Regions from separate parts of the Homo sapiens genome. Here region 2 is linked to region 1. The links are contacts of gene promoters, found by promoter capture Hi-C in human tissues and cell types (Jung and others, 2019). All regions are on one chromosome and are shown on one strand. The core of a region is centred on a gene start or on the middle of the fragment in contact, and the rest is flanking DNA. Distances in the headings are between cores, read along the strand shown.

Region 1 (2,793 bases), core at 95-2,594:
ATAGCCCCAGCAAATTGCCTGGAGAGAGTTTCCAGGCCATAGAAAGGAAGAATCTGAGCAGAGCCTGGAAGAATCCCTGAGTTGAGGAGATGGAACTGAGAGTACAGTTAACAGTTCACAGGACAGAATATCAGAGAGGAAAGGGCTCCACAGAGAGAGAACTCAGGAAATCTGCAGGTAGGCACACTAGAGAAATTTACCTATGTACTGATCAGTACAAGTGTGTGAAGGAACTATCAGAAGCTGGGAAAATGAGTACCCCAAAAATTTAAAAAATAAAAATAAAAAAAGTATCTGATGCTCCCTAGGGCCAAGAATAGTGCCTGTTTCCACCACTCAGATGGGAACACCTCATGATTCACAGGGCAACTGGGAGACAATTCATCCTGAGTCTCTGAGCAGAGGCACTGACAGCTTTTGTTCCAGAAAAAATTTCCAAGGATATGTATACAACATGGAAGATGGAGTAGTGTCTCCCCAAGGCAGAGGATAGACTTGTATGCTGTCCAGGTTAATAAAGTCTCCCTCTGGGGCAAAAGGTCAGACAGGTTTGTTTGCAACCCACTTAAAAGATGAGAGTTCCCTAAGCTTGGGATCCTTAGCTGTGAATCAAAGAATTGCTGCATGCATAGGAAACCCACTGCATGCACAGCATCTAACTATGTTGATTGCCACTGTCCTCATGTGACATGGGGTGCAAAGGGAGCCTGTGAGCATAAAGCACATGCTGTGCCAGGAGCAGTAAAATCCTTTGTCCCTGACCTAGGAGTCTCCTATCTTCTGCTAGCATCCATGAAACTAAAGCAAGCTAATTTGTTAGCTTCCAAATAGGGTAAAATTTCAGACACTTCACAGTTCTTGACAGGGGTACTGGGTAATTAGACCGATCTTGCATCAGTATAGGGGCATAATTAGCCTTAAACACTATTCTAAACCAACCCAAAAAAATCTACCCAGCAAGTGAGAAATTAATGCAAAAATCTCTAAAGACACAGAAGTTCTGAAAAACACTATCAACTAACTTTATCTGACATTCATAGAACACTGCCTCTAACACTGCATCTGACATTCATAGAACACTGCATCTAACAATTTTTGGAAAGAATATGTATAGACAATACATATTCTTCCCAAAAGCATATAATACAGGCACAAAGATAACTCGTATGCTGGGCCATAAAACAAGGTTCTAGAAATGTAAAAGGACTGAAATCCCAAGCGTATGTTCTATACCCCATTGGATTTAAGTTAGAAATCAAGAACAAGAAGACACTGAGATAAACTCATTACCTGGAAATGAAATAGAACACTTCTAAATAATTCATATAGGTCAAAGATGAAATAATAAGGAAAATCAGAAAATAACTTTTTATTGAATCAAAATGAAAATACAAAATATCAAAATACGTGGAAGGCAACCAAAGCAGTGATTTAGAGGGAAACTTACAGCTTTAAGTGCTTAAGTTAGAAAAGAAAAAAAGATGTAAGTTAACCGACATAACATTCCACTTTAAGAAAATACCCAAGAAAATTAAAAATTAAAAAAGTTAGAAAAAGAAGAGCAAAGTAAACCAAAAGAAATAATAAAAAAAAACACAGAAGTCAATAAAATGGAAAACACAGAGACAGTAAGGAAAATTAACTAAATTAAAAGCTTGTTCTTTGAATATTTGTAAATCATATATCTGATAGGGGGTTAATATCCAGAATATACAAAGAACTTCTAAAACTCAACAAGAAAAAAAACAAACAGCCCAGAAGATGAACAAAGGATACAAACAGACATTTCTCTCAAGAAAATATACAAATGGCCAACAAGCACATAAAAAGATGCTCAACATTACTAACCATTAGGTAAATACAAATCAAAACCACAATGAGATACTACTCCACACCTACTAGGATAGCTATTATCAAAAACAAAAGTGTCGGCAAGGATGTGGAGAAACTGGAGCCCTTGGGTATTGCTGGTAGGAATGTAAAATGATAGAACCACTGTGGAAGGCAGTATGGTGGTTCCTCCAAAAATTAATCACAGAATTACGATAAAATCCAGCAATTCCACTTCTGGGTATATATCCAAAAGAACTAAAAGCAAGAACTGGAATAGATATTTGTACACCTGTCTTCAGAGAAGCATTATTCACAACAGCCAAAAGGTAGAAACTACGCAAAAGTCCATAAACAAATGGATAAACAAAATGTAATATTTACATAAAATGGAATATTTTTCAGCCTTAAAAAGGAAAGAAATTCTGATATATGCTACATGGATGAACCTTGAAGACATAGTGAAATAAGCCAGATGCAAAAGGGCAAGTATTATGTGATTTAACTTACATGAGGTATAGGCAAATTCACAGAGACAGAAAGTAGAATACTAGTTACCAGGCAGCAGGGGAAGGGGGAGTGGGGAGTTACTATTTAATGTGTAGTTTCAGTTTGGATGTGGTAATGATGGCATGACACTCTGAATGTACTTAGTGCCACTAAATTGTACATCTAAAAATGGTTAAAACAGTAAATTTTATGATACGTATATTTTACCTATTTAAAAAAACCACAAATTACTAATAAAAGCAATGAAAAAGTTATCATCACCACAGATCCTACAGACATTAAAAGAAAGCATAAGATAACATGACTTCATGCTAACAAATTTGACAACTAGGATGAAATGAACACATTTCTGTTTTTTGTTTTTTATTTTTTCGAGAGGGAGTCTCTCTGTCACCCAGGCTAGAATGGAGTGGCATGATCTCGGCTTACCGCAACCTCCACCTCCCAGGTTCC
Region 2 (2,793 bases), core at 78-2,577, 1.7 Mb before region 1:
AAGCCAGGACTAACGGGGGACAGAATGCTTTTTCCTCAAATCCAGGCAGGGATGGGGAGCATTCTCAGCATTAGGGCATTTATGGACGCTACAAGAGGGAAAGGATGTATCTGAACGGTGGGGGTGATTTAGGCGATGAATCGCCACGTTAATAGCACTACTGCCAAATCTTCAAATTTAGAGGCTCTGGTGAAAAATTAAACCGGTGGCAATTTTCAACGTTTGTAGCATCTGTTACCCTACACTTCAGCACCCGGAGTCTGGACAGCTCCGCAGGCCGCGCTCCGGAGGCAGCATGAGCTCTCATCAATCTACTCATAGCCCTACTGTCAACGGCAGCCAGACTCAGGAGAGATTTACTGAAAATCCTCCAAGACTTCCCTTTAAAAACAAAACGACTTCCACATTTAATGGTCTATCTGAAAGAACATACGCAAGAAATTAGGAGATCTAAATTAAATTTATTAATAGGAGAGCTTGATGATGCTTAATTCCAGAGACCAGAGCTCTGATTGGTGAGGCTTGATGAAAAAGTAAAGAGAAATCGTAATTATATAGTTAAAAACATAACTTTTGTCATCCTCAAAATTCTAAAAATTCTTTACCTGTCCTTGAGAAACGGGTGAAATTGAAAACCATCAAAACAATTGGACTTCTTAAAAATTGGATTGTATGAGTGAAAGGTGTTTATGAGAAGTCGATGACTCCGGATCTTATCATCCAAGAGGACAGCACAGAATAGTTAATATGTTCCTTGAGGGACTAGGATGCTGACGTCTTTTTCTGATACCCGATCATTACGTGACTGAGAAAAAAAAAAAGGAAGTCATTTCATGAATAAAAATCGGAGCGCAACAGTGCAACAAAATATTCTGTACTTAAAGGCAACAGGCAGGCAGATGTTGACAAAGAGGGCTCTCCAAAAACCATGTTCGGATAGATTTTTGCGAACTGCACAGATAAATAGGAGCAGAAGGCCGGTCACCTCTGTAACCAGCGGTAGCAGCAGCAGAAGCCGCAGCTTCAGAGGCAGCCGGAGAGACCTCGGAGCAGAGAAGGCGCCGCCGACCCTCGCGGCTGCCTGGCCCGCGGCTCCTACAAAGGCGGGCTAGCCGCCCGCCCTCTCCCTTGCCTTCCTCCCCTTCTTTTCTGACTTTCCCTCTTTCCCTTAATCGCCTGCTTCTTCCTCCGGGTGGACTTACGGCCACCTTGCTCCTCCGCGCTTCACCTCATCGCCCCCTCTTTCTTTCTTCTGCCTCTCTCTCTGCGCCCCCTTCTCTCCGTGTCACGCTCCCTCCTGGTTCTGCGCGTCTACAAACTTTTGAGCAGAACACGAGCCTCGGCAAACGAGTCCCGCAGCTCCTCCTGCTGCTCCCGCTGGTTCCTGCGGCTTCTGCTCAGACACCAACGCCAGACGGCGATGCCTCTCGGGTGGTGACTCCAGCGCAGGAACTTGAAGAAGCGCTTTGCCCGCCGTCCTACCTGGCAGCTCTCCTGGCAGCGGGAGGAGTTGAAGGGTAAGGGAGGGAAAATCTTACCAAAGCGACCGGCTCACTCGACTGCTGATTCTTTCGCTTGGCATCGCGTCAGGGGAGTTAGCTTTCCTTCAGCCGGGTCTGGCTAGTTATTGGGCGCCGGGTAGATGCATATATATATATTTTTTTCTAACTATAGCAAGCAAGAAGTGGCAGGGCGCGCACCGGCTGTCGCCAAGTGCTGTTCAACTCAGGGAGCCGGGGCTTCGCTCCGTCCCTCCCCCGGCTTCCAGAGCTTTTTGGGGTTGGAGGGTGGGAGGCCAGGGGCGTTCTCACAGCTGTGTGTCCTCTTTCCCATCCTGCGCAGAATGACCATGTGTAGCGGAGCGAGGCTGGCCCTGCTGGTCTATGGGATAATCATGCACAGCAGCGTCTACAGCTCACCTGCCGCCGCCGGACTCCGGTTCCCCGGGATCAGGTAGGTGCTGGCTGCCTGGCCCAAGCAGGAGCTGGGGCTTCCCAGGCACAGACGCTTCCTCACGGTCTCCTTCCTGCAGTCCTTTGGGTCCAGACTACTAGCATCGCCCTCTGCGCCCCCGGTGCGCCTCCGCCAGCCTCGGCTGGACAGCGGGTCCCCATTCTAGCCGAGGGTCTGGCAGGCTCCGCGACTGCTCGGACGCCTCCCCCAGCCCTAGGCAGCTCAGGGTCCCGGGTAGAGCCAGTGAGCTTCTGGCCGCTGGAGAACCCCCCCTCCCCCAACCCGGCCCACAGGATGGGGGCAGGGCACGGCCCCTAGCTTGGTTTCTTTTACCTATTCTTGGGACGAGTTAGGAGAACTTCAGCTCTGGAGCCTGGCCGGGGGTTGAGCGTGAAGCTCCCTCGGACTTTGCTTTGTTACTGCTTGTTCTGGACTATCCGGGTGGGGTCTCTCTCTCTCCTCCACCCTTTCTTTTCATTTCATTCCAATTCTTTCCCCTGAAGAGCTTTCTTTCAAGTGATCCGTGTTCCAACTGCATTTTGAATCCCAGGCTGTCTTGGGGGGCGTGCGGTGGGGAGGGTGTTGGCCCGGTGTGATTGAGGAAAAGCGACTTAAGAGAGGGAAGAACAAGGACGAGACTGCGAAGGAGGGGGAAAAACAGGCGCAAAGGAGGAGGAAGGGAAAGCCAGCAGGCAGGCAGGACCGGGAGAGCAGCCCTGCCTGGCCCGGGATGGAGGAACCTTGGCTTTTTTCTTAACCCCGGGTTTCTAACCGGCAGGCGCGGCCCAGGTTCCCGGAGGCAGCCCCAGAGTCGCGGACCGATGTGCCAGGCTGTGGATG

Evidence for each region. The method cuts DNA at HindIII sites, captures the fragments that hold promoters and counts their contacts. A contact is called where the count stands out against the background at its distance.
Region 2: a contact is called between the fragment with the promoter of ADCYAP1 here and a fragment that was not itself captured in region 1, in 1 of the 25 tissues and cell types used here (dorsolateral prefrontal cortex).

What each region holds. Positions count from the first base shown.
Region 1 is chr18:2,557,043-2,559,835 of GRCh38, forward strand. All of the region lies in intron 3 of METTL4 (methyltransferase 4, N6-adenosine), which reads right to left. Among named protein-coding and RNA genes, the nearest start is that of METTL4, 13 kb to the right of the region's middle. The HindIII fragment of the contact is 4,977 bases long and covers 1-2,793 here.
Region 2 is chr18:903,544-906,336 of GRCh38, forward strand. It overlaps ADCYAP1 (adenylate cyclase activating polypeptide 1), which reads left to right and starts at 1,328. Exons shown (of 5, transcript NM_001099733.2): 1 at 1,328-1,517; 2 at 1,843-1,953. The coding sequence starts at 1,844. LOC124904340 (a long non-coding RNA gene) reads right to left here. Exons shown (of 2, transcript XR_007066435.1): 1 at 1,539-2,793; 2 at 1-805. The HindIII fragment of the contact is 12,558 bases long and covers 1-2,793 here.